2 separate regions of the Homo sapiens genome follow, and region 1 is linked to region 2. Evidence: promoter capture Hi-C in human tissues and cell types (Jung and others, 2019). All regions are on one chromosome and are shown on one strand. The core of a region is centred on a gene start or on the middle of the fragment in contact, and the rest is flanking DNA. Distances in the headings are between cores, read along the strand shown. Region 1 overlaps NCAM1 (neural cell adhesion molecule 1). Region 2 holds the start of BCO2 (beta-carotene oxygenase 2).

Region 1 (5,341 bases), core at 400-2,899, 1.1 Mb after region 2:
AGTGATGTGTCCCGGCAAGAAACTGGGCTGTTTTACAAAATAATTTTATAGGTGGGAGTTTCCTACTCAAACACTTCTATTTTCTCCTATTTCAGGCTGTTCCTCAAGATGTGTCAGGCTTATAAAAATTAAATCTTCAGTTGTAAGACCAGCTAAAAGGAAACATAAGTACCAGTGAGACAGGGGAAAAAAAAAAAAAAAAAAAAGCCTATTCCTAAAATGGTGAAAGGACCCTGCTCACAGGAAGGCTATTTACCAGAACATTCCCAAGAGGCACTCTCAGTTTGGGCTCAGTCTGAGGCATCTACCTGGAATTCAGTTTTATATTTATTGCTTTTTAACCATTTGAATTTCTGAGAAAGCAAGAAAAGTGTCCAGCCCCACCCTGTCACTCCATCCCATTCAGATGGGTTGGATTTTCATTCTGTGGATGAGAATTTCATGTGAATTAACTGGCTGTTTCAGGGGAACCCAGTGCACCTAAGCTCGAAGGGCAGATGGGAGAGGATGGAAACTCTATTAAAGTGAACCTGATCAAGCAGGATGACGGCGGCTCCCCCATCAGACACTATCTGGTCAGGTACCGAGCGGTGAGTGGCCTCCTTCTCAGACTTCACCAGAACCCTGCAACCCTGGCACCCAGCTTGCTAGGGAAACAACAGGGGCAGCCCACGGGGCAGGGGTGGGATGGGGTCTTATTCTGTGTCTGGCAGGTGGCCCATGGGCCCTGGCCATGGCTTAAAATCCCAAGACAGCCCTACAGCTATTAGGTCATGTTCACACTGGGTCCATTTGGAAACCTCATAGATGACTGTGGTGGTGACAAACCCATACCATGGTTGATTTTTCTGTGTCTTGAACTTTTCTACAAAGTTATTTTGCCATTATCTAGTACTTCTTGTAAATGCCATACTAATATATAAGAATCCCTACCTTGGATAACATGTGTATTGTAGGCCAGGCACCTGCACCTCACTGTGATCACATGCATTTTCTCTGCACAAGAACCCTGTACAGTAGGTCTTACCATTATCCCCTCTTTACAGATGAAGTAAGTGGGTGTACAGCAGTCAATAACTGCTGGATCTCACGCAGCTGGGTGAGGCAGTTTGAATCCAAGCCTGACTGAGAGGCTGGGCTCTCCCCACTGCCCAAGGCTGCCTAAGGTCCTCAAACAATGCCAGTTCCCTCACCAGCCCTTCACTTGGCCACCTGAGCTGTCCTAATCCTGCTAACAGCAAGTTGGCTCTAAGCCACCTTCTCCTGGTTTGCTCACCACCCACTTAAGATTCCCCTCATTCCACCTTTTATCACAACCCCCACACTGAAAATCACCCTTTCCATTTTGGTTTTAGAATGACACTTGGTCATCTTCAACTATAACCAATGGCTGAGAGATTTAGAGGCCACATCTGAGCACTGAGAATAACCTCTTGCTGGGGTTTCGTAGTAGAGAAAAGAATGAACCAGGGAGCAGTTTCCTTTCTTCACATAGCCCCAAGGAAGACTTTTTCTGGGAAGCTGAGTTACTTCCTCTCTGCCTTGTGATCAGCTCCTGTGGAAGTGATAGGTCTTTAACTAGCTAGTCTTCTGGCAAGTCAGTTCAGCACAGAGCCCCGCAGGCATACTTCTCAGCTGCAGAGGCCTTGTTCCCACTTAATTTGTAAGCAGATGTGAGCTGAAATAGTAGGAAAGGCCTGTCACTGCCCTGAGGCCCAGTCCAGAGATCCCAGTGAATGAGAGGTCCCCATGGCTTCCTCACTGCCAAGTAGGGTGCAAGGATTGGGCAGGTGGCCCCCAATATACCCCTGGAAGCAGAGATGTGGTAGGCTGGGATGCCTTTCCAATGGTTATCCTGATGTGGCCCCATGGACAGAACATAGGTTTTAGAGCCAGACAGACATGGCATCCAATTCTAGCTTTACTACTTATTCTGGAAGAATAGGTCACCTAATCTTTCAGAACTTCAATTTCTCCATCTGTAAAATGGGGATAAAATAGCTTATTGAGTTGTTATAAAGATGCATTATAATATATGCAAAGAACCTGAAATGCACCTGACACTTGGAAACCTTTATAAATGGTCACTATGGTTACTGCTAAGAGGCAGGCTCAGGCTGGAACCATCTCCCGTATGACATCTCCAACCATGTCGGATGTCAGTTTGTCTGAGGAGCCACTGTGGCTGCAGCAGGCAGCTCTGCATTAGAAAGACACAGCTGGGCACAACGCTGAAATATGTTAGATTTCAACAACCGTAACCACCCTCTCTCACTTCAAAACCTCATTCATGTTTGCTAAATATTATAATTTTATATTATGAATAAGTATAATATAACATTTTCTCTAGATTCTGGTTGTCTCTTGTATAATGATGTTTGCCAAGGAAGACAGAGAAATGAAGAGGAAAGATACCGGAATTGCTTTCTTTTAAATGAAAGTGGGGCCACATAGTGATATATACACATCCTAGCTTACAGCATAGCCAGACTGGTTAGACTCTAAGGAAACTAGAATTCCCCTTCCAGCACCACTGGCATTTGCCCATGCAGCATGAGCACTGTCACATTCCTAAAGGCATCTCTTTGGCTAGTGCAAACCCTTTTGCCTGGGAGGACTGCTTTGCTGTAAGATAACTCCTCATCCAGCCTTAGCCATGGGCCTACAACAGTTACTAGACCACTGTCCAGGTGACAGTGCTATTGTGTTCTGCCCTTCCAAGGAGCAGCCTGTCATGCAATAAACATCTATCAAGACTTCTTGTGTGCCCAGCAGATATCCCAGGGCACCTGCCTTGTGAAAAGGCCAAAGATTGCAAAGAGATGGGCTGTGCAATGGTGAAACCATCTGAAGACTTCTCAGGCCTTCTTCCACAAACTGTTTGGTGAGGGAGGTGGTTACCTAATTATTGTTCTTTGTGGGCCCTTTGAGCAGCCCACTGTTGGACTTGACAGCAGAACTTAGTCCCGAGGTACCTCCATCTATTTGCTGCCGTTGTAGAGACCAGGTCACACTGCATGGAATAGAAAAACCTTATTCAGTCCAACAGATGTTTGCTGAGCTCCCTACTATAGAAGGGAAAGATCATGAGAGGAGGAGAAGACAAAGAGAGATTGATTGATGGAAACAAATACAGTTTGATAGGAGAAATACGGCCAAGTGTTTGATAGATCAGTAGGGTGACTGTAGTTCACAATTACCTATTGTATATTTCAAACTAGCTAGAAGAAAATAACTCAAATGTTTCTAGCCCAGAGAAAAATATTTAAGGTGATGGATATTTCAATTATACTGACTTGATCTTTACAAATTAAGTGAATGTATTAAATTATCACATGTACCCTGAAAATCTGTATAGCTATTTTGTATCAATTAAAACTGTTATTTTCAAGAACACAATTAAGAAAAACAAAAAAAAGGAAAGATCATAGTTTTGGGCCCAAACGAACTTAGCTCCAGCCTTGACTGCAGGTGTGATTTTACGTTAGTCACCTTACTTCTCTCTCACTTCCCCATCACTGGGTTTAGTAAGAGCCTGACAAAACCCCACAGGCATGTTGTAGGAATACAACAAGAAAATGTGTGTAAAGCTTTTGTAGTGCCTAGCTCTTAGTAAGGGCTCAACAAAAATAGTTTTCATTTTTTTTTTTTTTTTTTTGAGACGGAGTCTCGCTCTGTCGCCCAGGCTGGAGTGCAGTGGCGGGATCTCGGCTCGCTGCAAGCTCTGCCTCCCGGGTTCACGCCATTCTCCTGCCTCAGCCTCCCAAGTAGCTGGGACTACAGGCGCCCGCCACTACGCCCGGCTAATTTTTTGTATTTTTAGTAGAGACGGGGTTTCACCGTTTTAGCCGGGATGGTCTCGATCTCCTGACCTCGTGATCCGCCCGCCTCGGCCTCCCAAAGTGCTGGGATTACAGGCGTGAGCCACCGCGCCCGGCCATAGTTTTCATTTTTAACGAAACTGGAATCTACACAGTATTCACACATCAGGAAGGTGAGTCAGCCACTTTAACTTAAGCAGCATCCTGAAATATGACAAGAAATGTACTTGTTTTATTACTCTTCTAGGACATCCTTATGCATATGTCCCCAGCACCAGAGTGTAGCCTGGGAGACAGGAGTGGTGCTTGAGTCTCTGCATGCCCTGAAGGTGATGGGACCTTGACGGTGTTGGCCCAATGCCACACTGGCATCTGCTGTTGCTTGTGTTTGCCAGCATGCAAAGTTGACCTCCTGACCTGTGCAATTTTTCAGGCTGGTAAAGAATAAAGACCATGTCCCATCATTGCTTTTTTTTTTTTTTTTTTTTGGAGACAGAGTCTTGCTCTGTCACCCAGGCTGGAGTGCAGTGGCATTATCTCGGCTCACTGCAACCTCCACCTCCTGGGTTCAAGCCATTCTCTTGCCTCAGCCTCCAGAGTAGCTGGGACTACAGGTGTGTGGCACCACGCCCAGCTAATTTTTGTATTTTTAGTACAGACGGGTTTTCACTATGGTGGCCAGGCTGGTCTTGAACTCCTGACCTCAAGTGATCCACCCGCCTCGGCCTCCCAAGGTGGCTAGGATTATAGGCATGAGCCACCGCGCCCACCCCCATCATTGCTTCTTATTTTCATGATTTCATGCCAAAAGTTATTGAGTCCCGTAAGTTTTGCCTATTGTCTGGTCTTACCAGTACTTTTATCTAAAGCTTTTTTGGTCTCTTGTATCCTTCTTGCCGGTTTCTCCCAGAAGCTCTCCTCCGAGTGGAAACCAGAGATCAGGCTCCCGTCTGGCAGTGACCACGTCATGCTGAAGTCCCTGGACTGGAATGCTGAGTATGAGGTCTACGTGGTGGCTGAGAACCAGCAAGGAAAATCCAAGGCGGCTCATTTTGTGTTCAGGACCTCGGCCCAGCCCACAGCCATCCCAGGTATGGCTGCCTCTGCTTTCTGTTTGTTTCCGCTTTGAATTAATGCACAAGTGCTGCACCTCCTAATGCGCCTGAACAACCCTGACAACTTGCTTGCTTACAGCCATCCTCATGATTGGTTGCCCATGCAAAGCTTAGTTTTGCCTTGTACCTATCTGTGCAGTGGGGTGAGATGTACTGGACCCCCAGGAAGGCTTGGCCAAGCATCCTGGAGAAAAGGTCCTGTCCCATTTGGCCTTGAAGGACTGATGCCAATCAGTCCATTGGACCCCTCAGATGGGAAATGCCCCAGCTCCAGCCTAGCCTTGGAAGTTGGTTGAGTAAGGATCCTTTTTTGAGACCTTATCTGCCATCTGCCACATCATACTTGGACCACATAACTGTTTCTAAGCACTTCCTATCTGATGCTTGCTTTATGAGCACAGCCAT
Region 2 (5,241 bases), core at 243-2,742:
TTTAAGTCACAATGTGTTTACTGTTCAGCACTGTTCAGAATTGTTATACCTTGTAGTATAAAGGTGCCTGAAAGCCTAATCATGAAGGCTTATTTATTTATTTTTTTATTGATCATTCTTGGGTGTCGAAGGCTTATTTTTTAAATCAAATTTGGATGGCTTTGGTACCATCCACGTAGACAAGAGTAATTATCTTGGCCAGGCATGGTGGCTCACACCTGTAATCCCAGCAGTTTGAAAGGCTGAGGCAGGCAGATCACTTGAGGTCAAGAGTTCGAGACCAGCCTGGCCAACGTGGCAAAACCCTGTCTCTAATAAAAATTAAAAAAAGTAGCTGGGTATGGTGGCGTACACCTGTAGTCCCAGCTACTCAGGAGGCTGAGATAGGAGAATCACTTGAACCCGGGACACAGAGGTTGCAGTGAACCGAGATTGTGCCACTCTACTCCAGCCTGGGTGACAGAGTGAGACTCTGTCTCAGAAAATAATAATAATTATTATTATCTCACAACTGGAGAAATGCTATTGCAGGAATACTATTGCCCTTTAATTTACACTTCTAATGTTACTCTTTACTATTTCAATAAAATATCACAAATTTATAAGTTATTTTTCATTGATTACTAATCAAAATATATACCGAACTATCTTCGTACTCTGCTATATGTATTAAGACACTCCCTTCTGACAATTTTAACCACTTCTTTCTTGAAATACAATTTTGCTAGGAAAACATGATATGTTAATGTTAAAAGCAACTCTGTGGCAGTGCTGTGGGAGTTACTAGAAGACCTTTTGGTAAGGGAGTCAGAGAGGTAGATTTTAAATTGGATTTTTGAAAAGGAAAGGGGATATTTCAGGCAGGGGAAAAGTTTCTTCAGTGGCACAGAAGAACAAACGTATCATGGTATGTTAGTCACTTTGCTGGGATGATAATTCATGAAGGGGAATAGTGTATGGTCTAAACTGGAGAGCAGGGACAATCTTGTTTCTTGGTATTCTTACTTTGTAGCACAGTATTTGCTACATTGGTGCTAAAAATGTTAATAAAGTCATATACATTTTAAGGGCATACTTTCACTCATGCTAGATTGTCAGAAAATGTTCTGTAAAATTAATGAATAGAAAAGAAAAGGAAGGATGAAGTGATTTAAAGGCAGAGAAAAAGGATGAAAGGTAAATTGTTGCCAGATTGTAGCGTCCTCTAGTGGCAGTCTAAATTCGGACTTTATTCTGTGTCGGAATCTTCCAGAAGAGGAGTGGCATAAAAAAATTGATGCTGTGCATCAGGATAAACGGACTTAACTGTAGTGTGAGAACAGGTTTGAAAAAGAAAAGTTTAGGGCGGGGGAGACCACTATTGGTGGTCTAATTTTAATATTTCAAACAGCTGCGTATTATAGCTAGGGTGTTTGGACGGTTGTCATGGAAATAAGCCCCGCCCCTTAAGCTGCGTCCTCTCTTTGACCTGTCAGTGAGGGAGGGACAGTCCAGGCAGTTCTGTGCGTGTTCACTGTTTAGTAGTACTCAAAACTGCCAGTGTGAGAGGATTTGGAAATCACTGGATCTGCTCAATACAAAAATGTTTTTTCGAGTCTTTCTCCATTTTATCAGGAGTCATTCTGCCACTGCAGTGGATTTCCTTCCTGTGATGGTGCACCGGCTCCCAGGTAGAGGGTTTGCCCCTTTCTCTTCCTCATCCTCCTCTTCTTGCCAGTCTGCGCTTAGAATTCTGTGCCTCTTTCCTGAAGGTTGCTGGGAGCTTCTGAAGCTTTGTGTCCTGTGTGGCTCAGATGAGATAGCAATTCCGCAGAGTCCTGGAAGTTAAAGAAGGCTGAGTTAGGATTGTTTCCTCATGGTCAGGGAAACAGCCTTCACATTTGTATATTTTATGCAATATTTAAGGCAGGATTCAGGGACTTGGTATTCTTTGGGATTTGCAATAAGAAGAATATTCAATATTTAGGCTTTTCTAAATTGAAAAATCACTGCCACACGTTCTAATGTAATTGTTTGGTTTCTCTATTTGCATTTTGCGGGGACTGCCTTAAAACTCATTTATGTTTTATAGCCTTCTATTATAGTTACCATTGTTACATGATTTTATGTATAGAAATTGGCTGATCTAGAGCTTTCAGAAATCATACTAATATGCACTATAAATTTTAAAATTACTTAATGTAGTAATTTAATGTTTGCAGTATGCAAGGGAATGTATTACGTACTGGAAGGAGAGAGGAGACAAACACCAGACCCTGTACTCAAGGAGTACTGGTAGTATCATTTATCATACAAGACAGATAAGATAAGGTCCATATGAGAGCTATAAACAGATGCTGTGAGTTCAGACTAAGGAGAATCAGTTCTTGCTGTAGGTAAGGGGAATGCTGTGTTTATAAAGCAAATGACATGGCAACTGGATCTTGAAGGATGAGTTAGGTGAGTAAATTTCATCTGAAGGAGTTGGGAAATATCCTAGATGAAGAAAATTGATTGGCGGGGGGGGGGGAATTAAACATTCTATTTTGACATGTTGAAAGTCACCTGCAAGAAGTAATTGATGAAATTAAGAGACTAGATGAGATTGCCAAGGGAGAGTGCTGAGATTAAAGATCCAAGGTAGGACCTTAGGAACATTCATGAAGTGGTAAGGGGGATAAGGAGCCCATAAAGGGAATTAACATTTGGAAAGCATCCACTATCTTTATATTTGATTATGACAACAGACATAAACAGGAAGTATTAACCTCCTTTTATTTCCATTTTATCATGGAAAAACCTGAGGCTCAGAGACATTAAGTAACTTGCCCAAGGTTGTCAGCTAATAAGTAATAAAACTAGCAGAATGCAGAGAGTAGTTATAGGGCAGCAGGAAAGTTAGAATAGGACAATGTCTCAGAAGCTACGAATAGAAAGGAGTTTAAGAAAGTGTTAATGTCAAATTCTATGGAAACTTTGAAGAGCATGTAGCAGATTACCAGTAGCATGCAATAGAGTATACAACATATAGACATGTAAATATTTTCTACAATGTAAAATGCTTTAAATTTGTGTATCTCTACTTAGACAAATGCCCAATCAGGCCATTCAATTTACTTAAAAAAGTAAGATGAGTAAAATTACATACCTGACCTTAGGGAATTTATTTTAATCTGAGAATAAGATAAATGGTGCATAATGTTAATAAAAGTAGAGTAACATAAATACCTGAGAGTTTCCTTCTCTATCTTTTCAAAGCATCCTCTTTGTACTTCTGATACTGTAGTTCCCAGATTTTAGTATGCTTAAGAATACCTGCTTGTCCTTCCCCAGAGATTCTGATTTATTAGGACCAGAATGGAGTCCAGGAAACTGCATTTTAGCAGTAACACCAGGTATTTCTGTTGCAAGTAGTCCTCATACCAGACTCTGAGAAACAATGCTGAAATAAAACACAGTGTCAGTGATCTGTTTACTAGGCAGTCAGTTCTTTTATTTCAGGATTCTAATGCTTTTTATTCTCAGCAGTACCAAGTACTTCGTCAACTGAATAAAATAAAGGAGATATTACACCTTATTGGACTGATCATTAAAAGCTATGTAAATATAATAATAGCATTTTTTGAGTATTCTGTTCTAAAAGCTTTACATAAACTAACTCATTTATTACTTATAGCCTTAGAAGTAATATGAATTATCATCATCACCATCTTAGAAAAGAGGAAACAGACCACAGAGAGGTGATAAGTGCCTTTCTCAAGCCTTCTTATTTAGGAGAGGGCATATTTGAAACCAACCAGTCTGGAGCCAGGTAGAGCCCCAGCTCACACCCTTAAATATTACACTGTGCTGCCTCTTAAGGGAAGTACTGTAACACTGGAGATAGACCTTGACCAATTAATGGAATTTGCTTTTTTTTTTTTTTTTGAGACGAAGTTTCGCTCTTGTTGCCCAGGCTGGAGTGCAGTGCTGCGATCTCGGCTCACTGCAACCTTTGTCTCCTGGGTTCAATGCGATTCTCCTGCCTCAGCTCCTGAGTAGCTGGGATTACAGGGGTCGGCCAACACACCCGGCTATTTTTTTTTTTTGTATTTTTAGTAAAGATGGGCTTTCATTATGTTGGCCAGACAGGTCTCGAACTCCTGACCTCAGGTGATCCACCTGCCTTGGCCTCCCAAAGTGCTGGGATTACAGACTTGAACCACCGTGCCCCGCTGGAATTTTCTTAGAACTAGAGAAAAGGACATTGGGAAAGACATTCAGGGTGAAAGAGAATTTTATTTGAAAAATCAGTAAAGAATTAGGTTTGACTCATTTGTTACATGTCATATAGGGGAGTAGAATGTCTCGTGTGCTTCAAGCTGAATTTTTGAAAGATTTGAAAGAAATGGGATAGTAACAACTTGCTAAAAGAATGCAAATCTCACTTCTTCAGAGTAATAGTGTCCCTATATGTTAGCTCATTTTTCTAGCCTAGATTTCTGAATCACTCTTAAACTTTTATGAGATAAAGAATTCTATTTTATAGCACTTAATTATTTATTTGACCACCCCTCTATGTTAGGCAGTACTGCCTTGTGAACACTCAGTAATGTTAAAATAATAGGGAGAAGTTTCAGTTCCTTATTATACAACTATGATTTTTACTTCTTGTGCCTTTTGCACTTTAGGTAATTTCAGACTGGATATCACTGCATAATTTAATTTTTGACACCCTTCTACTGGAAAATGCCTTGTATTTTCATGTATATGCCATTAAAATAAAAGGAATTAAATTTAAGATCTTATTAAATTCACAGGAATCGCTATGAAGTCTTTGGAATCACATTCTGGTATATCTAAATTACTGGGGTCAATATAATTGGATAATATTGAATGGTGGTCATTTTTATAACAACGAGGTTGCTCTTAGCACATCTGGGGTTGGCATGTAGATTTATTCTTGTAAAAAGACAGGTATTGTTCAACTATGAGAAATGATAAAAATAGTAATTGAAGTCCTAAGTTAGTTCTTAGGCAGATTAGTAGTCCTAAGTTAGTTCTTAGGCAGATTAGTACTACAAAAAATAGAAGAATTGTTGTGGGTTGAAAATGGAGAACCAAAGCGTTGATAGTCTGGGAATGAGGAAGGAGAGAGAAGAAATTTGGAGCCTGTATTTGGTGTTAGGTTTATGTTTCCCTCAAGCTGCCAGTTGATAAGATTATTGTCTGTGGGAAACAGGCAAGTTTATAGAAGATTTGGTAAAATATTTTTTGTGCTTT

Evidence for each region. Contacts are between HindIII fragments. The study calls those that stand out against the background at their distance.
Region 1: a contact is called between a fragment that was not itself captured here and the fragment with the promoter of BCO2 in region 2, in 1 of the 25 tissues and cell types used here (dorsolateral prefrontal cortex).

What each region holds. Positions count from the first base shown.
Region 1 is chr11:113,255,412-113,260,752 of GRCh38, forward strand. NCAM1 (neural cell adhesion molecule 1) reads left to right here. Exons shown (of 20, transcript NM_181351.5): 16 at 466-590; 17 at 4,735-4,912. Among named protein-coding and RNA genes, the nearest start is that of NCAM1-AS1, 16 kb to the right of the region's middle. The HindIII fragment of the contact is 4,981 bases long and covers 1-4,140 here.
Region 2 is chr11:112,174,020-112,179,260 of GRCh38, forward strand. It overlaps BCO2 (beta-carotene oxygenase 2), which reads left to right and starts at 1,493. Exons shown (of 12, transcript NM_031938.7): 1 at 1,493-1,670. The coding sequence starts at 1,583. RefSeq lists a silencer at 3,854-4,020. The HindIII fragment of the contact is 3,487 bases long and covers 1-2,696 here.